6 separate regions of the Homo sapiens genome follow, and all the other regions are linked to region 5. Evidence: promoter capture Hi-C in 16 types of primary human blood cells and fetal thymus (Javierre and others, 2016). All regions are on one chromosome and are shown on one strand. Each heading gives the region's core, a stretch centred on a gene start or on the middle of the fragment in contact. The rest is flanking DNA. Distances are from core to core; before and after follow the strand shown.

Region 1 (3,383 bases), core at 54-2,553, 5.0 Mb after region 5:
TTGCAACACATGTAACTTACAAGAGAGAATTAAACTAGAAAAAATAAATATTATCTACAAAATAATTTTCAAAAGCAAGCAATTTAATAAAAAATGAGATAAAATTAAGAACAGGCTTTAGCAAAAGGGAAAATGCAAATTAAAAGAGCAATCAGATGCTCTTATCAGCAAAAACTTAAAAAGTCTAACAATAGCATAAGGGTAACGATGTGCCAGTCTAGTTTATGGGAAATGGACTTGTATACAGACGAATCTCAAAACCTCTCAAAACCTAAATTAGTGAAAAAAGGGGAAAAATGAAGAATGATTCACATATGAAATATAAAACTAGGAAAATAGTATTTTTAGGGAATCGTACATATGTAACTATTTTCAGAAATACAACGGAATGAGTAATATAAAATTCAGCATAATGGTGAACGGAAGGAAGGAGATGTTTTTAGAGAGTCTTCTTTCTAGAAGACTCCAAAAATACTGGCATTTTTTTTTTCTTAAGCTCTGTAGTGGGTACCTGGGCATTTTTCATTCTTCTTTAAGATATGCACATGAGATATACTCATATGTATATTTCCCAATTAAAATTGGTGTACAAAATCTTTTTAAGGAGAGCCCTTATGAAACTGTTCACATCAGCAAGTTCTAGCTTGAATAAGGACTTCCTGTTACTATGTAACCAAACAAAAGATAGCATTTTCTTGTTTTCTGAAGCTAATGTAAGATGGAAACCTTCAGTTGTAATCCTATTTCAAAAGTTCTTGCTCTTCACATCTGACTTATCCTCAATTATTTCTAGTACTTCAGTACAGATGTGATTTTATAGAATACATTCGCAAATTAAAAACGCCATCTCCATCTGCCTACCTTGGGCTTCCAAGTAAAGTTCTATTTTTACAAAAATCAAAACAGTTCCTCAACTTTAAAAGTTTGAAAACCAGTGTACTTGTAAAGCACTTGATGCAAGCAACTTCTGAATGTTTCACATAAAAACAAACAAAAATGTGTCCTCTGTAATACAGTTAGAGCCTCCCAACAGAGCCTCAGAAGACCGTTTCTAAAGGCAGTGAGTTCTACTTGCAGAAATAGGGCGGGAGTGCAGTCTGACTCCAATCCACACGTCCTTCCCCTCTGACAGAACGCCCCAAAACGCAGTCCTCTCTTTCTTCCGCGCCGCTCCCGCCCTAGTCCTCTTAGACCCGCGACCGGAGGCTCCGGAAGACCCCGAGCCCCGCCCGCTCCGTGACCCCGCCCCCACCCGTCCCGCCCCTGAAAGCGCCCGGAACGCTGTGCGCGCGCCTTCGGGGAGGAGGGGCTGTCTGGGCTCGGGGCGCGGCGGCAGTCAGCTCTATGTTCGCGGTCTTAACCTCTCCTCTGGCCGAGTCCTTGCAAGAAGTGAATTACCCGACCCTGGTGAGTAGCTGCAGGAGTCAGACCTCTTGGAGGCGGCGGCGCCAGCAGCGGCGGCAGGCACGAGGTCCACCGCGGGCGCCTGCGCGCTCGCCCGCCAGCCAATCTGGTGGCCGCTTTCCTCCGGGCGCCCTTTGACCCGGCGCCCCTCTGGCAGGCGCTGGTGGCGCCCAGCGGCGAGCCTGTAGCCCCCTCGATTAACCTAGGCTGTCACTCTTAGGCCTGTTTTAGTCTGCGTTAGTTTTACTGCCTTTTACACTGCTTTATCCCCACCTCACTGGCCTCGTCGCCGCCTCCTCTTTGAAACGGTACCTCCTGTCGCCTCGGATTTTCCTTGTCTCCCCGACAAGGTGGAAATTTCGGGTCGGATGGAAGCCTTTTTCAGCACCTTCTCCTTGTGCCCCCAGACTGCCTCTGGGCCTTGAGCCGACCGGGAGAGTAGAAGGATCGAGGCCTGCTGGGCTCTGGGTGCAACGGAAAGGTAGCTGTCGCCTCTGGGCATCGGGAGGAGACCGCCCGATGGCGAGGCCGCTAGAGATGGTTTTTCAGTTCACCTGTTAACGTGTTTGGCACTGTCATCTTAGACTCTTAGCCTTTGCTAAGTCGGGATGCAACAGTGCTGGATTAGTGTTTTTGTTGTTCCTTTTTCCAAAGAAGCAACTTGAAGTACAGGCAGGTATAACTGTTTGGTTTTGTTGTTGTAAGACCCTACGGATAAGTGTTAGGAGAAAATGTGGAAGTGCTATAAAACAACAACAAGGGGGGGATAATGTTGATTAAGAACTTGAAAATAAGAAAAATGGGACTGGAATAGGCTGTTCACGTTAAAGTATTGAGGCAGTAGTTTGAAACAAAAATATAAAGTAAAACCTAGATATTGGTGATACTGTATCACGTTGTTTGCAAATCACTTTCATGACAATACATCTATTTCAGGTGTATCACACCTGAAAAAAACATGAGTGCTGTGAATTTGTGGATTTTCAGGCTCAATGCAGAAAAACACCCCCCAAAACAAAAAATCACAACAATGAAAACACCATTTCCAGAGCTGTTGCTGTTATTCGTGTGACGAATAGTGAATGTATGATCATAAAATAGAATAAGCTGTCTTTAGATGAAGTTTGGGCACAGTTTATGGAGTAGGTAACAGTTAATCATTGTTTATTAGGTACATAATCCTTAATTGAAAACATAACCATATAGCAGCAGCTTTCATCTTGTGTCACAAAAATAACTGGTGTATCCTCTAAATTTGATTTGTCTAATACCTTAAAGGAAGGCAGAATAGCATGGACAAGAACTTGAGTTCTTGAGCCAGACTCGATCTGCTCCTTGCTAGGTGATTAACCTTAGATTGGTTTCTTGGCCATTTGCTGGCCCAGAGATTTTTGAAAAAGTTACCAACTGCTCAGCTTCATCATTTGTAAAATGAGGTTAAAAAAAATTCTGCGGCCTGGCGCGGTGCCTCACGCCTGTAATCCCAGCACTTTGGGAGGCCGAAGTGGGTGGATCATGAGGTCAAGAGATCGAGACCATCCTGGCCAACCAACATGGTGAAACCCTGTCTCTACTAAAAATACAAAAATTAGCTGGGCGTCGTAGCGTGCGCCTGTAGTCCCAGCTACTCTGGAGGCTGAGGCAGGAGAATCGCTTGAACCCGGGAGGTGGAGGTTGTAGTGAGCCAAGATGGCGCCACTGCACTTCAGCATGGCAACAGAGTGAGACTCCATCTCAAAAACAAAACAAAACAAAACAAAAAACAGAAACTAAACCTCACTGAATTTCTGTTAACCAGAGGGTACAAGTGTTTACAATAAAACTGACCTGGGCAAGGATTGATTTTGAAACTGATTTTGAAAGTTCCAGATGTGTCTTCTAGTATTGAGTTATATTTATCTCCGGTGGCTTCATACAAAATAAAATTAGAAGAAAACAATATATTTTTTAAAAAAAGCACCAGAAGTCTGTGTGATTTA
Region 2 (3,961 bases), core at 785-3,284, 3.1 Mb before region 5:
ACACCTGTAATTCCAGCACTTCAGGAGGCGGAGGTGGGCGGATCACTTGAGGTCAGGAGTTAGACACCAGCCTGGCCAACATGGGGAAACCCCATCTCTACTAAAAATGCAAAAAATTAGCTGGCTGTGGTAGTGCACGCCTGTAGTCCCGGGAGGCTGAGGCACGAGAATCGCTTGAACCTGGGAGGTGGAGGTTGCAGTGAGCTGAGATCGCGCCACTGTATTCCAACCTGGGGGACAGAGTGAGACCTTGTCTCCAAAAAAACCCACCACCACCACCAATATATATATAATGTAATTTATAACATCCTGAACTAGAATCAGTACGCTACATAGTCTTGCAATTGGGGCACTCCCTAGGAACAAAACTTATGCCTAATTGGCTGATGTTTAAAGTCAGCTGTGGTGTGTGTGTGTGTGTGTGTGTGTGCACGCTCATGTAATTGGCAAACATTGTTTTGAAAAAAATTTTTAAGCATGAGTTTTAGAAAATATTTTGTGCTTGGAATTGGAAAGTATTTTTAGGCTATAACTAGTTTATTAACTTATATATACATATATTGTCTACTAAGTAATGTCTTTGTTGCACGTATTTTCCAGACAATGTCACTTTATTATTCAAGTTATACTGCTTGGCAGTGATGACCCTGATGGCTGCAGTCTATACCATAGCTTTAAGATACACAAGGACATCAGACAAAGAACTCTACTTTTCAACCACAGCCGTGTGTATCACAGAAGTTATAAAGTTATTGCTAAGTGTGGGAATTTTAGCTAAGTGAGTATAAATACTTATAGTGTGTTAAATTATTTTTCTACCTGGTGAGGGTATTTGTTAGAAAATTCAAGCTACATCTTTATATGTTTAATTGCTCTGGGTCAGTGTTTCTCAACTAGGGGTGATTTTGCCCCCCAGAAGATTTTTTAGTTGTCACAACTTGAGAGATGCTACTGGCATCTAGTGGGTGGAGACCAAGGATGCTGCTAAACATCCTGCAATCCCCATGACAGCCTCACAACAAAGATTTATCCAGCCCCAAATGTCAGTACTGCTGAGGTTGAAGAACGCTGCTGTAGAATAGAAGTTGGCAAACTATGTCTCATGGGCCAAATCCAGCTTGCTCCCTGGTTTTGGTGTAATGGAGACTGACTGGCTTGCAAAGCCTAAAATATTTACTGTTTGGCCCTTACAGAAAACAATTATTGACTTGTGTTTTGGATGAATATAATAATAATAACATTTCTTGAGTGTTTCCTATGTTAAGTGCTAGGCACTGTGCTATGTGTTTTTTGTGTTTTCTCATTTACTTCTTCCACATTTTCAAGGTAAGTACTTTACCCCTGTTTTATTGACGCAGCATCTGAGGTTCCTTAAGATTACACTGTTAATATGTGGCAGCACCGGGCTTTGAATCAAAAACATCATGCAAGAATTGTTTAGCTAAGGATGTGGTATAAGAGAGGGTTAAGAATTAGGGGCATTGGAGGAGATAGACCTAATTTTAATCCTAGACTGAGATTGTGGCTGCATACACACTTGTAACCTCTTTAAGCTTCAGTTTGTTCATTTTTTTAATTTGAGAAAATAATATGGGGTGCTGAAAATTAAATAAAATCTAATAGGTAAATTACCAGGGGAAAGATTTATGAGATGGGGACCTATAGGAGTCATTGGGGCAGTTAAGAAGTCATACAGGTTTCAAGATGTGTGTTGGTGAGTGAAGGGAAGCAGGGAGGAATAGTGTTGTGTGTAGGCTTTTATGTAGAAACAGACATTACATTTAAATATTGAAATGTTACACGACATTGTGATTGCTTCAGCTTCAGCAGTGTGTGATGAGACAGTTGATAATGCAACTGCAAGCATGGCTATCATTTTGGGAAAGATACCGAGTGAAAGTGTTGAAAATTGGTTCTAGATCTTGAAAAGGCTTATACTAATCCACTTGAAGTAGTTCGAATATGAAAAATATGTGTTATAAATAAAGTTTCAGTGCCACACACAAAAAAACAGCACTCGAATACAAAATTTTCTTTTTTTCTTCTCAGCAAGGCAGTTTTCCTTCTATAGAAGGGTGTGCCCTCACAGATGGAGCAATGGTGAGCGCACACCTGGACAAGGGAGGAAAAGGGGACTTATTCCTTATGCACGTGGCCTCTATGGCTCTGTCGTTCCCCTATTGGCTAGGGTTAGACTGCACAGGCTAAACTAATTCCAGTTGGCTAATTTAAAGAGAGTGATGGGATGAGTGGTTTGGCGGGAAAAATGGTTATGGCAGAGCAGGAAATCGGAATGAGTCAGGGTGGAGAGGGTAATCAGAAAAGGTTGCTTTACGAGGAAGTTAAATTTAAAAGTAGAAGGCAAAGAATTGAACATACTGACATACTGATTCTTCGAAGAGAAATTTAGAACTCATATCTAACAATCCCCTCCTCTTGCATTTTCCTTACACCTCTTTCTCTTCAAACTTCTTTAACATGCCTTGGCTTAGTTCTGCTCAATTTTCCGAAAGAAGAAGCTTCTCTGGATAAGGTGGAGGATAGTTAAGGGAGGTTTTAGTAAGTGCCATTTCTATGAGCACTTACTCTGCACCAACCCACAGATGCATGGTATGACACAGCACCCGACAAGAATAAGTACACCCATTACAGCTGTGAGGGAAGTAAGAATTGAGGCTGTTATTCCTTTCCATTTACCGAACCACTTTTCTAGCCATCCTGTAAAGGGGTCATTTACCCCTGAGCTGCTGGCTAACTCATTGGACAGAGCAGTCAGACCTTGCAATGCCTTTGTTATACTTCCATTAGGGGCAGTGTTGTTTGGGATGAAGGCACAACATTCAGTTTTAATCATGATGCAAACTCCTCCTCTTTCTGCTAATATCATGTCTAAGGCTATCCTATTTTCCCAAGCCATCTGGCAGTTAGTCCCTAATTGCTCAGCTATTCCTTTAACAGCATCTCTAGTGTAGTTCATAAATTGCTGTTGGTTATAATAGATGTAGTTTATCCAATCTATGTTTTTATTAATTGTGACCCACCAAAATATTGACTCAAATCCTGCAGCTATTTGATTTCGGGCTTTAAATTGATCTGGTATTCCCCGTGGGACTCCAATTGCATCTAAATAGACATGAGAGTTGAATGACCTATAAGGAGCTTCTCTCACTTTATGATGTCTTATTTTTCCTTCCTCTGGTTGATGAAATGCCAGAGTAAAAGGGATAGCCAATTGAACTAGAGCATAACTACTGCTCTAATTATTTGGCAGAGTGTCCAGTAAAGGTCCTCCATAATACCACCATACATCCGCTCAGGGATGAATAAGGGCAGATTGACGGGTCACCTCTTGGAAGTGCCTAACTTCACTGCATCCTGTTAAGTCTCCAAGAAATGCCAAATTTTTCCCCGTGTCGTTAGAGACACGAGGTAAAATTGGTTTTGGAAGATGGAGGCTGGATGGCCCTTGGGGGCTGACCTGCAGGGTGTTGGACTTCAGGAAATAGCAGAGAAAGAGCTTAGCACAATTTGTTATTCCAGGCAGTAGAATCTTGAAAAAGCTACCATGCACTCCATGTCCACTTGATTTGAGGACCATCCCAGTGGAAAGGTAACAACCTGGGCCTCTAGCCTACCGTGCACACAAGTGTAACAGTTACTTTTGTTTAAAGTGTGAATGGAATATTTAATACATTTTAACCAGGCATTTACATCTTTATACCCTGTCAATAGCTATGGTTTGCCTTAGGTCTCCTATTTCTACTACTGAGACCTTGCTTTTGTCATTTGGCATGAGGCGAGGCATAGTTTTATTTCGTAGGTTTGTGAAAGGGGCAGTTGTAGGAGGTAGAGCAGGGAGAACAAAGCGCATCTTAAAGAAGCCTATAGGGTCCTTTCCAGTGACTTCTGCTCCTAAACCATAGAAACGCTCTAAAGTGGGGTTAGAGTTGCTAGTGGTAGG
Region 3 (3,718 bases), core at 425-2,924, 3.4 Mb before region 5:
CAGGCATGCATTTTCATAATAGAACATTTGTCATATCGTATGTATTCCCATTGCAGATCATTTTCCCACAAAACTGTAAGCTTCTTCAAGGCAGGAAGAGCTTTTATTCGCCTCTGACTTGTCCCAAACCAAGTAGTGCCTGCAAATATCAAGTACACAATAAATGAGTGTTAATTACACCACTCACCCCCAATCCTTACATTTCCTGTAGGCTCTAAATATTTCTATGTGTGTGCAAAGGAGAAGAAATGGAGGAATGTGGACATAGGGTTCACAGATACTAAATAAACATAAAGACATGGCCATCCATGCTGATGGACATTTACCAGATAGTAATGGTGCTCAGAATCAATTTGCTAATCAAGTCTCCATAGTTTTAGGGTTGTTATGTGCAAGAGGTAGGAATGACCTACATTATCAGGCAATTCTCTTAAAAATCAATATCTGGATATATATGTCTCCCACCCCTCAACCCCCATTTTTTCTTTCTTTCTATAGATTAGGTGTGGTGTAAACCATTATACTTGAAGTGGAAATGAGCTTGCTAACCTGTGATACCTTACCTTGGATTTACGGGTACATTTGGCTAACCTCATATTTCCCTTTTTGCATTTTTTCACTGGAATCCTAAGATAACATAAACTGGTGAAACCTGGTTTGGGTATCTAAAATACTTAACTTGGGAAAGTGAACTGAAAATATTAAAAATCATTAGCTGCCTTAATTGTTCCTTTTTCAACTCAGTGATACTATTATATCCTCTCTTCTCAGCCTTTGAATGTACTTCCCAGTCTCTTCCATGAGTAAACATTTGAAGATTAAACATTTGAAGATTCTACCTTGTTAATATGTAATATTAACTGATACTGTTTTTCATAAGGGGTTTAACTGTGCCTGGTCACCTTATATAATGCCGCTTTAAAAACATCACCATCACTGATGCGTTATAAAACATTTATTCTGGACAACATAGTATGTAGAACACTTTCCATTAATTACTAGAAATCTTTTGAAGAGGACGCTGCCCACAATGGGAAGTATTTTTATTTTAGATCCTTGTACTAAAAAAATATACTTCACTCAGAGTAAATGAAAAGACTGGGTGCCTCATCAATATCATTGTTTCTAAATTTCTGTAGACTATTCAGTTGCAAGAGAGATAGGTCTTTTGTCTAATGCTCTAACGGTAAAAAAAATATTAGTTTTATTAAGAACTTTAGGGTTAAGCTCTTGGATTTTTGTAGCACCTCTTCTACTCTTTTGTTCAAGTGCCAAGTATTAATTCTTTTCAGCTTGTAAGTAAAATGTGGTTCAGAATGCTACCTCTATTTGTAGCATTAGGAAAAAAAAATGCTGTAGATATTTATAATAATTCTCGACAATATTGTTTTATTTTAGCATCAATTTCCTCTCCTCCGTTATGATTTTTAATGGAGTCCTTATTGGTGTTTTTTTTTTCCTTGACCTACTTTCTTTTCAATAGCTTTCATATATAGCCTGTTGTCATTGTTGGTGATTTCTGTAGAGTGTAGTAGAGTCTAAATCACGGTGAAACAGAGTAGTTAGTTATCACTTATTCTAGAAATGTTTTCGTGGTTTAAAAGTCATCTGGTCTGTTCATATTCTGACTTCTTTTAAACTATGCTTTTCATGAATTTGCTCCGTTCTCCAGACTGAGGATTGAACCTCATTCTGCTCTGACCCAATTGTTCTTTTCCTTTGTTGCCTCCACCCCCTAGAGAATGTGTTTCCAGGGGACAGGCGTTCTTGGTGCTGAAGAGGAGGAGAGTCAAGTGAGACGAGATCTGGTACCTCACGCACTAGATCCCTCCTCTCCGGCCTGGTGAGAAGTCAGAGACAATTTTGACAGTTCATAGTCCTGCCTTGGCTCTCACGCTTGCGGTCCATGGGCGGGTTTTACCTTCTCTCTCTTCCTCTGCTTCTGGCCTGCTTACAGGCCAACAGCAAATGCAGCCATTGCCCGAGACCACTCAGAACTCTCCCTGTGCCATCCTCTTGGGGAACAGGAGGATATGTCCGTAGAAGACTTCGTGGACTGGGGAAAGCCACGCCGGGATCGGGACGCCGGAGAGGGTCGCCCCTCCCTAGGCTTTTTCCCGTCGCGGCGCCCACGTGACCGAGAGCAGGCCTTCACCAGCCCGCCCCTTTCGGCCGCTGCTGCCCACTTCCCGCTCGGGGTAAGTAAACCGCCGTTTTCCGCACCGCCCCAACCCCGCCCTTCTCCTTTCCCCTTGCCTTCACCTCCCTCGGGCTCTCTCGCGCCACTCTCCCCACCCCCATATCTTCCCCATCGGGCCCTTTGTACGTGCTCGGCGCCGTGCAAGCGCGCCCGGCACGTGACCCCGCCGAACGTGGCATTGTGTTATCACGTGACCCAGGTGCGTACGCGACGGAGCGGGGTGTGAAGATGGCGGACGAAGAGGCCGAGCAGGAGAGGTTGAGTTGCGGCGAAGGCGGCTGCGTCGCGGAGCTGCAGCGCCTGGGCGAGCGGCTCCAGGAGCTGGAGCTACAGCTGCGGGAGAGCCGGGTACCGGCCGTGGAAGCGGCCACCGACTACTGTCAGCAGCTGTGCCAGGTGAGGGCGCCCGGTGGTCCCCTCCCCCTTTCCCCAGCTAGAGGGGGAAGAGGGCGAGCGAGCGCTAGGCGGCCGAGAGGTGGTCGCCGCTTCCTTGGCATCATCGGCGCCTCCGCCTGGGTGGGAGCGGGAGTAGAAGGAAGGCGCCTTTGTGTGGCTGCAGTTGTGGCGGTTGTTGTCGTCTGCAGCTCCTGGCTGGGGGAAGGGAGTTGCGGTCAAGGCGGAAAATCCCCCCTCCCCTTTCCTTCCCTGAACTCGGGACTGCGCGGTCCCCGCGGCTGAGGAAATGTACACGGTGCGGATTGGAGAGAGTAGGAGAATGGAGGCCAGGTTCTCTTCCTCCTCCTCCTTTTATTGTGCACTGGGGATTACCGCGCCTCCCGCCTCTGCGCCTCTGCTTCCCACTCCGACGGGCCTCCGCCCCCACTGGTTTGATTCCTTTGCCTTCCCCTGCTTTCATCCGTCCCGCCCCCCAGCCCCGGCCCTGTCCTGGCTGTCTCCGGGCCTTTGTTGTTCGAGTTTCGCCTTAGGACTGAAGGGGCCTTTGTTGATGTTCGGAGGAGCAGTCCCCGCCGACCCCTTCTAGTTGAGCTAGACGTTCGGGAGGGGGTGCTTGGCGGAGGTTGTCCCCTCCTGCCCATACTTGCTTGCTTGGTGCATCACTTCTGTGGTAAAGCTTTATCTCCTTAGTGTAGAGGAGCTGTGCCTGTACATCTGTCTCAGGTTGAGTGTCCTTTTGGGGCGGTTTTTCCAGAGTCCGTTTCTCATTTGCTTTCGCCCTTCGAGGAGTATGATTTCCACTATCCTTTCTGTCCCGATCACCCCCTCACCCCTGTTTCTTGGAGTCCTTCCTATTTGGCTTCCTGATGAAGTGGGAGAAGACTGAGGTTCATGTGGATCTGTGCTTTGGGTAGTTTCAAATCTTTTCTTTGCTTGCCCAAGGGCACTGCTCACCAGTGACTGCATTCTAACCAGAATTTGGAATGTTAATAACACTGTTTGCTAGTGATGAAAATCATTTCATCCATGGTGAAAATCGGAGAGTTTGGGACTACATTTGCACTTCATTACGAGCCTTACACTTAGGTTTAAAATTTCAAGGTAGTGTTGCTGGCTCTGGTG
Region 4 (3,444 bases), core at 272-2,771, 3.0 Mb before region 5:
CCTGGAACTGGGGATAATCAAAAGTCAACATGGCAGATTAGCATCCAAGATGGAGTTCCTTTAGCCACCACACCACGTCATCTCCATAGATTTAAAATTATGAACTCATTCAGTGAAGCTGCATATTTTATATGAGATCACAACAGAGATACTCAGGTATTCATTCTTCAAATACACATTAAACACTTATGTTTCGGGCACTTTGCTGGTGCTGAGGAAATAAGAGTGAATAAGACATGTTCTGTCTTCATGAAGCTTATAGAGGAAACAGACACTAAAACAAGTAAAACAAAACAATTACTCTTATTATTGTCATCATAGAAGCAAACAAGGGACTAAGAGAACTAGAGGACACACTTTTCAAATTATAGGTTGCCAGTTAGAAATAAATTCCTTTGCCTGGCGCGGTGGCTCACGCCTGTAATCCCGGCACTTTGGGAGGCTGAGATGGGTGGATCATGAGGTCAGGAGATCGAGACCATCCTGGCTAACACGGTGAAACCCCGTCTCTACTAAAAATACAAAAAAATTTAGCCGGGTGTGGTGGCGGGCACCTGTAGTCCCAGCTACTCGGGAGGCTGAGGTGGGAGAATGGCGTGAACCCAGGAGGCGGAGCTTGCAGTGAGCAGAGATCACGCCATTGCACTCTAGCCCGGACGACTGAGCAAGACTCCATCTCAAAATAAATAAATAAATAAATAAAAATAAAAATAAATTCTGTTGAGTCCCAACCACCAGTCTTAAAAAATACGTATAAAACAGGACAGAATACAGTATAAATAAGTATTGTTTCATGAAACTTTCATCGTGCATAAAGAGTGATAGTATAAAATGCATTTCTTTTAGGCACAAGGAATAATCTACGCAATGGGAATGGAAAGACCCTGCTATGTTAGAAAAACAAATTAACATTGTAGCTAGGTTCCTACAAAAATGATAGAATGGGGCATGAATGGAAGTTGAAGAAGTTAAGGTTCTGGTAGAGACTCGTGCAACAAAGAAAGATAAGTGATATGATTTGATTCACAATTTAGATGTCACCTTTCTTGATACATGGAGAATGAACTGGAGGGAGGGCAAGAATGGAAACAAACACCCCATCAGAAGGCTGTTGTAAGCAGTCAATATAGGTGATAATGGGGGCTTGGTGTGGAATAGAGAAAGGAGAGGGGGAGGCAGCAGCAATAGTGTAGATGGATTCAAGATATAAAGATAAAATCAACAGGACTTGCTGAAGAAAGGAATCCAAATATTGTGATTCTATGTACATATCATGCTTTCCAGATGTCTGTGTCTATGCACATCCTCCTCTTGCAATACCTGACCTCTCCCCAAGCTCTCACTCTATTTACTTGGCACACTCCTACCCATATCCCTTTCAAAACTGAGACCTAACATCACCTTTCTACAAAACTTTGTCTGACCCTTAGGAGCTTTCAAGTTCCCTTGGCACTTTGCACATGCTTCTAATACAGTGATTACAGGCTGCAATGCAATTACCGGTTTACATCGTTTTCCAAGCATGTCTGAGGCCATTTCAGGGCAGAAACTATTTTCCGTTCACTTTTAGCCTTGGGACTGATGACAGTGCTTAGAAAACTGTCGACTAATTAATCAAAGTTAGCTAAATGCATTTGCCATTGCACGTTACACATTCCTTCATTCCTAAACTATTATAGCAAAACGATGCTCATTCGCAAAGGTATTAAATACAGGCTGGGTATCCTTGGGACCACAAGTGTTTCAACTTTTGAATTTTTTCAGATTTTGGAATATTGGCTTTATACTTACCTGTTGAGCATCCCTAAACTGAAAATCTGTGGGGTTGGTTATTTATTTATTTATTTATTTATTTATTTATTTATTTATTTTTTGAGACAGGGTCTTGCTTTACCACCCACGCTGGAGTTCAGTGGCACAATCTTGGCTCATTGCAACCTCCACCTCTCAGGTTCAAGTGATCCTTCCACCTCAGCCTCCCAAGTATCTGGGATTACAGGAGGGTGCCACCATGCCCAACTAATTTTCTAATTAGTTTCCCAGGCTGGTCTTGAACTCTTGGGCTCAAGTGATCTGCCTGTCTCAGTCTCTCCAAGTGCTGGGGTTATAGGCATGAGCCACCATACCCAGCTCCTAATCTGAAAATCTGGAATTCTCCAATGAACATTTCCAATTTCCAATTGAGCTCCAATGAACTCAATGAACATTGAGTCTCATGTCAGCACTCAAAAAGTTTCAAATTTTGGAGCATTTCAGATTTCCAGCTTAGGGATGCTCAAACTGTACGGAACATGTTTTTTCTTTGCTCTTTTTTCCCCATGTCCTAACGTATTGAAAATATTATTATTTATCCTCAAGTTTCAGATCATTCCCCAATGACTCTATATTCAGAGAAATACATATATATCTGCATAATTTACACTGCTGTATAAATCCATTAGATTCTGTTCAATGATTGGACTGTGCTTCTTGCTTTCACAAAGAGCACAGTATATAGGAAAGATCTAATTTTAAAGTTAGAGTTCTGTTCATAAACCAACTCTACAATGTATTGATGATGTGGCTTTGGGTAAGTTATTTAATCTCTGTGGATCTCAACTGACTCAATTATATAATAAGGTTAATACTTCTATATCACAGGGTTGCCATGAGCTTAAATGTGAATGTGTAGTAACTAGCACAAATATATACTCAATATATTAGTTCTTGTTTCTCCAACTTATCTTTTTCTTTTTTTTGAGACAGGGACTCACTTTGTCCCCCAGGCTGAAGTGCAGCGGTGCAATCAAAGCTTGCTAGTTTCAGCCACCTGGGCCCAAACGATCCTCCCACCTCAGCTTCCCAAGCAGCTGGGACCACAGGTGTGTGCCACTACACCTAAGTTTTGTTTTTTATTTCTTTATAGAGATGGGGGTCTCCCTATGTTGCCCAGGCTGGTCTTGAACGTCTCAGTTCAAGGGATCCTCCCACCTCGGCCTCTCAAAGTTCTGGGATTACAAGTGTGAGCCACCATGCCTGGTCCAATTTACAGTCTTTACAAAGAACACAGCCTTTGCAAAACTAAACACAATTTGTTTCTCATCATGGCACTATCTTTACTTAAGGGCTAAGAATGGAAAACGTCCACCCTTACACACAGCTTAGATACTAAGGTCCAAAACTACCTTCCCTGATATGGTTTACTGTCTACATTAACATGAATTTATTATTTTTTGTCTTCATTAGCATAACTTTACTGTTCTAGAAGACTTCTGCCCAAATAACTTAATCATTCATTATAAGAACTTCATGAGAAATCTATTAGCTTTTCACGTTTTTTATTTTTATTTTTTGTTTACAGGGTCTCGCTCTGTCACCCACCCTGGAGTGCAGTGGCACAATCATAGCTCACTGTAGCTTCAAACTCGTGGGTCCGTCCAAGTGATCCTCCAGACTCAGCCTTTC
Region 5 (3,750 bases), core at 582-3,081:
AAGACCTTGCTCTTTCCACCATATTATCTTGTAAAATGAGGATATTCTCAATAATCTCTAAAGTTACTTTATGTGATAAAACATATATAATTCAGTAATCCATTACTCTTCCAAAACATGCACAGGAAAAAAAATTTATTTGTTGAACGTTATCTCACTACTTTGAACTTGCTGACACTTAAAAATAATTTTAGAATTTTAAAGTAGACATAACTCGTTGACAATCTATAATATTTCACTAGGTTTTTCATGGACTATATAACGCAAAGTGCTTAATAAATTTAAAAAATGGCAAATAAATGGTAAGAGATAGTATTTTCAACCAAAGTTTTTAACAAGTTCTAAAGTGTCTTTAAAAAATATATATGCAGTTTTTACTTTTCTAAATTTTATAGTCATTAGAACCCAATTTACCTGTTAATTTGAAAAACGACGCTTTAAAGTCACTTTGAAATATCTTGTTCTAAAATAAATTACTGCAGAATAAAGAAAGGATATGGGTTTTCTGATAGCGATTTCTAGTCTAATATTATATTCTGATTGTCACCGAAATCATTCGTTATCTCTTCAGAATATGCTACTTGAAACATCTTTTGATCGTAGACCAGTCTATGTTACTTATGGTGAAATTCACCTACATTAGCCCAACTGAAAGCCGAGCATTTAAACATTACGAGTATTGCTGTGCGGTATCGGAGAAATTGAGAACCATTCGGTGCTAAGGGAAACACTTTATTAGACTTGATGATCTACTAATTTAACAAGCATTTATTGAGCATCCCCTACATGCCAGGTACTGAAGTAGAAGTCGAATATAATACAATCTTTGGCCATTAAGAACATTACGTCCGGCCGGGCCCGGTGGCTCACGCCTGTAATCCCAGCACTTTGGGAGGCCGAGGCGGGTGGATCATGAGGTCAGGAGATCGAGACCATCCTGGCTAACAAGGTGAAACCCCGTCTCTACTAAAAATACAAAAAATTAGCCAGGCGCGGTGGCGGGCGCCTGTAGTCCCAGCTACTCGGGAGGCTGAGGCAGGAGAATGGCGTGAACCCGGGAAGCGGAGCTTGCAGTGAGCCGAGATTGCGCCACTGCAGTCCGCAGTCCGGCCTGGGCGACAGAGCGAGACTCCGTCTCAAAAAAAAAAAAAAAAAAAAAAGAACATTACGTCCAGCGGACTGAAACTCCAGAACGGCTACGATCTTCGCTGAAACTACTACTTACAGATACGAGAACTGGTGGACCACACTATCTCACCAGTTCATTCTCCTGTTTATCACCGGAATATCAAATCCAAAATCAAGAGTACCCAAGAGAGGAAAAAAGGCAGCTACTCCCGAGCAGTTGAGCTCAGAGAGTAACCCCCACTCCCACGTTACTGAGGGCTGTGGGGTCTCCCGGGTGGACCCCGCAGGGTCCCGCGAATTAGAGGGGCCCCGGGAGGCACCTTCAGAGCCGGCACCAGGCAGAGGCGGGGGCGGGGCAGGCCGGGACCGGCGTCTCCATGCCGGGCCTCGCTCACCTCTTCCACCTCGATCTCCTTGTAGTCGATCTCTTCAAAGTTGAGGACCTGGGAAGGGGCTTCGATCATCTCACCGGCCGAAGACGAGGAGGAGGAGGAGGCGGCAGAGGCTGTAGACATGATCCCTCGCGGCGCCCGGTGGGGCCGGGAACGGTGCCACCCGGACAATCCGGGTGAGACCCGCGCCCACCCGCCTCCGGACCGACCCTCAGCCTGGAGCCGCGCAGTCCTACTACCCGGCGATCCGTGGCGGGGGTAGAGGCAGCGGCCACAGCCGTGTCCGGCTCTGGCTCCGCTGCGTTTTCCGCCGACGGGCCCCGCCCACTACACTTCCGGTTCCGGGCTGAAATCGGAAACAGGAGGAGGGCCGTAAACTCCGGGGTAGGGGAGGGGAGAATTTTGTGACTTGGAAAGAAAAGGAGGGACAGGTTGGGGGTGGGGTGGAGTAAGCTAAGAAGCAAACTTGGACCTCTAGAACAAATTTCGCGAGACCTTTATTACAGGGCCTCAGCAACCGGATGATACCGCGAGAGAGGACGCCTGACGTAATTAAAGTGCGCGAACGGAAGTGGCGCGGAACATGACGGAAAATCAGTACGGTTGGTCCCTTAAGGACCAGCGGGAAAGATAAAAGCTGGGGTTTAGTCTGTGCTGCGTGAAATATGTCTTGGCCTCACTTCCTGTCCTCTGAGCTGCCTGCAGCCGGGCGAGGTGGTGTTGAACTGTGTTTTTTGTGACGAAGCTTACTTTTAAGTTTCATCCCTAAACTAAGTTGACCTGTTTCTTTAAGACGGCTTGCAAAATGTGTTTTCCTCAATGTGGGATATGGAAAGAAGCAGTTGCTCCTGTTATTTTGAGCTAGTACCTGACGCTATGAGAAATTCTAAAAGAGCGAATCAGATCATGCAACATGAATAACTATGGAGGCTGAGTGATCAAGAACAGAAGTTAATATTTTGGTGTTACAAACTTTCCACGGATTAGGTGAATAAGATATTTATAATTTGGTGTGTTCATCTCAAGTTATGGATTACGAGTGCGGGGCACTAGTGCTTTAGATTGGTAAATGAATCATCAACAGTCGCCTTGAAAATCGAATATTTTTGTCACCATTTTCAGGACATGAGAAAACACGCTGAGAGTTTAAAGCAATTATGGTCCTCACAAACTAGATCATTCTGTCCCCAAGATGGTCAGTATTGCTCATGTTGTACTACCAGCACAAGTTTTAGTTTTAAACTAACTGTTGAATTTTATATAGTCCGTTTGACATAAAGCCTAACTGTGGAATTATGTTAAACACATTTGGGATTGCAAATAGATCATTGGATTTGACCATCAAGAAGTTACAAACTCCTGGGAAACATTCTGTCACTTTTTATTCGTAGTTCTAGTGACACGCAGTGACAGTTTGATGAGTGGATAAAAAAATGAAAGAAACGATAATTTCTTTTCACTGTACACTCTCTCTTTGCATGCTCTTACCCAAGGTCTCTGTTTCTCATACTATTTTTATAATGATGACTCCTAATCTCCAAATACTCAAGATTTTTCCTGAATTCTGGACCTATTGGTCATCTCTACTTAGACAAACACCTAAACTTCAAGATACCACAGCAAATTCAAAAGTTGTCACCCACCACAAATATATTCCTATGTTATTTTCCTATGTCACTTAAGGATGCCATCACCCAGTTGGTTGTCCAAGTGAGAAATCAGGGCATGTGAAATGATGCGTGGTGCACTGATACCCAGTAGAAGCTGATATAATCAGTGGGACAGTCATTTTCACCTGTCATTCCCCTTGCATTTCCAAACAAGGATGGTCACTTCTTACCTTGTGCTATAACTCTGCAGGTCTATATCCGATTTCCTTTTAACACCTTGATCTTGCTGCCAGGTGGGAACTCAATAAATACTTAGATATTCTGTACAAATGAATAGCTTTTGTCAGTCCTCCCTTTCCCTGGAGTGTAAGATATGTTTCCTGTACCTTCAGTTTAGGACTGGAATCTTGACAAAGGACTAATTAATTACCACAGCCATGATGCAGTTCTCCTGCTTGATTTTTCCCCCCAAAATTTTGTTACAAAAATGTCAAATATAGAGAAAAGTTGAAAGAATTTATGGTGAACACCTATATGCCCACCACCAGGATTCTACCTTTAACATTTTACTATACTTGCTTTATCATAATATACATATGTGCATCTCATCTCTCCATCCA
Region 6 (3,809 bases), core at 205-2,704, 3.2 Mb before region 5:
AGCTAATTCCAGGACTCTGACTTTCACAGTTTCAAAATCGATGCCCTACATGTAATATACAGGTTGTGTTTTTTTTAAAAAAGGAGAGCTGTTGTGAAGCACATGGATAATAATGGAGAAAGACAATGAAAACAAAGTGAATAACACAATATATATTTTTTTAACTTTTGAGGATTTTTTAGGAATACAGCTCTGTTTTAATGCTTAACATCCACAAAGCACAACTAAAAGTAGAGAAGTTCTATATTATTGAGCCTTTATTTTTTATTATAAAACATATACAGAAAAGTCAGTGTAACATATATATTTATATATACATATATACATATGTGTATAAATACATATGTATATATACGTATGTGTATATGTGTATATATGTACATATACATACGTGTATGTGTATATGTGTATATATGTACATATACATACGTGTATGTGTATATATGTACATATATGTATGTATATGTGTATATATGTATATATCTATACAGTTAAAAAATTATAAAGTGAATAGCCATGTAACTACTATCTAGATGCAAGTTAAAAACTAGAAATTTTTTTTTCCCACCCTGTCTTACAGTGCTGAAAAAATTAGAAATTTTAAACCAAGAGTACACTGCCACTTGCATGAACTTCAGGGAATCTGTATATTATCTGAAATTATATATAAAATTAGGGGCTCTATGAATTTTTTGGGAAAAAGAGTCTAGAATTTTCAGAAGCTTAAAAGAATTCCCCTCATTTTAAGTACTTATAAGAGCAATAAGACTTAAGATGGCTCCGTAACTTAGTAGCTTTGCAGTCTTAGACTAGTCTCTTGCTCTCTGAATATTGATTTCTATATCTGTAAAGTGAAATAATAATGTTCACTCTCATGAGGCTGTTTTAAGGAACAGATGAGTTATCTATCTGTGAAATAGCTTTGTAAGCTCCAAAGTACTCTTTCAAATGTTAATTATCTATCTTTGTTAGCAACTGAAAAATTTAGCTTAGATCTTCACAATATCTAAAGAACTGCTGGCTGGGCCGGTGGCTCATGCCTGTAATCCCAGCACTTTGGGAGGCCAAGGCGGGCAGATCACTTGAGGTTAGGAGTTCAAGACCAGCCTGGCCAACATGGTGAAACCCTGTCTCTACAAAAAATACAAAAATTAGCTGGGCATGGTGGCACATGCCTTTAGTCCCAGCTACTCAGGAGGCTGAGGCAAGAGAATCACTTGAACCTAGGAGGTGGAGGTTGCAGTGAGCTGAGATTGTGCCACTGCATGCTAGCCTGGGTGACAGAGTGAGACTCTGTCTCACAACAAACAAACAAACAAAAAAACTAGTAAATTGCTTTTGTTGCTCTACATTGGTTTAAATGCATGGTCTAGCATGATAATGCTAGTCTGGCAATACGCTAGTTCCTGGTCAAGCCAACCATTCTTCAAGATCATGCTTGCTCCTGAGCTGCTGAATAATTTCCAAAGAAAATCACTTAACATGGCAAAATGCTTTCACTTTAAATTCATGATCCTGACACTCAGATGCACATTCATTACTTCTCAGTAATTACTGAAAGTTACTGAAAGTTTCTAGTAAGCCCACCCACTCTTCTACCCTCCCAGATGGTTATTTCCTATTAGCCTCTCTCCAAGGTTACCCAAGGTTCCACTTCTGACCATGATGGAATAACAAGGACTGGACTTAACTTCCTACCACAAACAACTAGAAAACTGGGCAAAATATATAAAACAACTGTTTGCTATTATTGCCCCCAAATTTCTGCCTGGAGGCAGTTTCCAGATCCTGGGCATAGAAAGGTAAACCCACTGCCTAGGGACTTTATTGAGTTGAGGAGACAGAGATCAGAGTTCACAGATGTGGAAATTGAAGGGCAAAGTTTTGGAAGGGATGAAGCTATACAAATAAATAAATAGAATTCATAAATCTGAGACTTTGCTAAGTACTTGGCTGTTCATGTATGGATTGACAATCCACACAGTCGAGCACAGAATGACCAGGGAGTATAAGCTAAATAATTCTTAGAGCTCACAGAGGATGAGAAGACATTTGAGCTCTGACCAGCCAGAGTGAAGAGTCCTCAGTGAAAACCAAGGAATTCATTGAAGACCTCTGAGCAGTTATTAATTAGTAGTAAGGTCAAATTATTTCTGGAATGAAGACTACTCTAGACCTACCCTAATAAAGCTTAAAAACAGTCCACAAATGAATCAAACTCATCCACAAATAACTGGCTGAAAAAAACAGCACAACCCTTCCTAAAGGGGGACAATTCAGACACTGAACAAGGATGCAATTCACAACGTCCAGTATTCAATAAAAAATTATTATTATTTTTTGTTGTTGTTGTTTGTTTTTGAGACGGAGTTTCGCTCTTGTTGCCCAAGCTGGAGTGCAATGGAGCGATCTCTCGGCTCACTGTAACCTCCGCCTCCCAGCTTCAAGCAATTCTCCTGCCTCAGCCTCCCGAGCAGCTGGGATTACAGGCGCCCGCCACCGTGCCCAGCTAATTTTTTGTATTTTTAGTGGAGACGGCGTTTAACTATGTTGGCCAGGTTGGTCTCAAACTCCTGACCTCAGGCGATCCACCCACCTTGGCCTCCCGAAGTGCTGGGATTACAGGCGTGAGCCACCGTGCCCGGCTCAATAAAAAATTATTAAACATGCTAAGAAGCTCAACTCATTTGAGCTTAAAACTTCTTAAAGCCTGAGGAAAAGGAAAAATATATAATTCTCTCTTTAAATGTTGAACAGTTTGTGACATATTAAAGATACTTAATCAGAAGAAATTAATTCTACAATATTCTTAAAGGCAATCTTTTAGCTTTTAGATAAAAAACATTTGATAAAATGGGTTTCACTTCTTCTAGGATGACTTCCATCACAATTCTATTTTAAGACTGTTTTATGTAGATTTGTAATCTGGTGTTTTGAAACAACATAAAACTTGGTTTCTCTTTTAACAAAACTGAGAAGAGTTCTCATGCCTTCTTTTTCTCAAGGTAAATATATCCAGTTCTCTCTATCTTATTCTGACAAAATTTTTCTTATTCTCTGGATGCACTCTGGTTCCTCCGTGTTTTTTAATTAAATGCCATTGCTGCCGTGTTAAAACTAGGAACAAATAGTTCTACAAAGACTAGAAGTCCAATAAACCATGGGAGTATAAAATATATTGTCATAGTTGATGTTGTCAATAATAACCATGATAAAGGTCATAAAATACTAGTTTCTAAAATTTATGAATCCTTTTATCTATGTCAGATGCTGTGCTAAGTGCTTCATGACGGCTATCTCATTTTACTCTCACAACTCCACGAGATAGATACCATTGTTTTGTTTTATAAATGAGAAATTTAAATCACTGAAAGGTTTATAAATGAACTCTTTCCACACTTATACTGTATAATAAGCCACTCAAAAACTCAGCGGTTTAAAACAATACTCATTCATTATCACACATCTACAGGTTGACTGGAGTTTGGCTGATCTAGGCTGGGCCCTAGTTGGGCATCTCTGCATCTTACTAAAAGATCGGTTCAGGCAATTCTGTGCCATATGCATGTGATTCTGGGACCAAAGAGCTTGCTTTGTATGTACTTCTCATGGCAATGATACAGGCACAAGAGAGAAAGCAGAAATATGGGGTCTCTTTAAGATCTTGGATCTGATTTGGCACACCGTTGCTTCACCACAACCTATTGGCCAAAGCAAGTCACATGGCTAAATTCAAAATCAAGGATTGGGGAAGTATACTCCACCAAAGTCCATGGCAAAGGTGTGGATGCTAAGAGGCATGAAGGATT

Evidence for each region. The method cuts DNA at HindIII sites, captures the fragments that hold promoters and counts their contacts. A CHiCAGO score of 5 or more calls a contact.
Region 1: the fragment with the promoter of MANEA here is called in contact with the fragment with the promoter of MAP3K7 in region 5 in 4 of 17 cell types (total CD4 T cells, naive CD4 T cells, total CD8 T cells and 1 more); the score reaches 9.5 in total CD4 T cells.
Region 2: a fragment that was not itself captured here is called in contact with the fragment with the promoter of MAP3K7 in region 5 in 1 of 17 cell types (monocytes); the score reaches 5.1 in monocytes.
Region 3: a contact is called between a fragment that was not itself captured here and the fragment with the promoter of MAP3K7 in region 5, in 7 of 17 cell types (fetal thymus, naive CD4 T cells, non-activated CD4 T cells and 4 more). The highest score is 12.5, in fetal thymus.
Region 4: a fragment that was not itself captured here is called in contact with the fragment with the promoter of MAP3K7 in region 5 in 1 of 17 cell types (naive CD4 T cells); the score reaches 5.6 in naive CD4 T cells.
Region 6: a contact is called between a fragment that was not itself captured here and the fragment with the promoter of MAP3K7 in region 5, in 1 of 17 cell types (non-activated CD4 T cells). The highest score is 5.9, in non-activated CD4 T cells.

Annotation. Positions count from the first base shown.
Region 1 is chr6:95,576,232-95,579,614 of GRCh38, forward strand. MANEA (mannosidase endo-alpha) reads left to right here and starts at 1,304. Exons shown (of 5, transcript NM_024641.4): 1 at 1,304-1,407. MANEA-DT (MANEA divergent transcript) reads right to left here and starts at 1,220. Exons shown (of 3, transcript NR_104136.1): 1 at 862-1,220. RefSeq lists silencers at 1,044-1,123, 1,174-1,263, 1,544-1,603 and enhancers at 1,400-2,340, 1,804-1,903. The HindIII fragment of the contact is 3,606 bases long and covers 1-3,383 here.
Region 2 is chr6:87,476,762-87,480,722 of GRCh38, forward strand. It overlaps SLC35A1 (solute carrier family 35 member A1), which reads left to right. Exons shown (of 8, transcript NM_006416.5): 2 at 601-778. Among named protein-coding and RNA genes, the nearest start is that of SLC35A1, 5.8 kb to the left of the region's middle. The HindIII fragment of the contact is 966 bases long and covers 1,552-2,517 here.
Region 3 is chr6:87,153,164-87,156,881 of GRCh38, forward strand. It overlaps ZNF292 (zinc finger protein 292), which reads left to right and starts at 2,402. Exons shown (of 8, transcript NM_015021.3): 1 at 2,402-2,596. The coding sequence starts at 2,429. It overlaps LOC124901355 (translation initiation factor IF-2-like), which reads right to left and starts at 2,084. Exons shown (of 2, transcript XM_047419630.1): 1 at 1,813-2,084; 2 at 1-139. RefSeq lists enhancers at 1,940-2,099, 2,370-2,709, 3,221-3,718. The HindIII fragment of the contact is 3,192 bases long and covers 79-3,270 here.
Region 4 is chr6:87,585,053-87,588,496 of GRCh38, forward strand. The region is part of intron 1 of RARS2 (arginyl-tRNA synthetase 2, mitochondrial); the gene reads right to left. Among named protein-coding and RNA genes, the nearest start is that of RARS2, 3.2 kb to the right of the region's middle. The HindIII fragment of the contact is 2,536 bases long and covers 254-2,789 here.
Region 5 is chr6:90,585,241-90,588,990 of GRCh38, forward strand. It overlaps MAP3K7 (mitogen-activated protein kinase kinase kinase 7), which reads right to left and starts at 1,832. Exons shown (of 17, transcript NM_145331.3): 1 at 1,524-1,832. The coding sequence starts at 1,643. It overlaps LOC124901363 (a long non-coding RNA gene), which reads left to right and starts at 1,554. Exons shown (of 2, transcript XR_007059680.1): 1 at 1,554-2,715. RefSeq lists silencers at 1,652-1,771, 1,768-1,964. The HindIII fragment of the contact is 2,842 bases long and covers 1-2,263 here.
Region 6 is chr6:87,402,196-87,406,004 of GRCh38, forward strand. No RefSeq gene overlaps it. Among named protein-coding and RNA genes, the nearest start is that of CFAP206, 3.9 kb to the right of the region's middle. The HindIII fragment of the contact is 1,468 bases long and covers 721-2,188 here.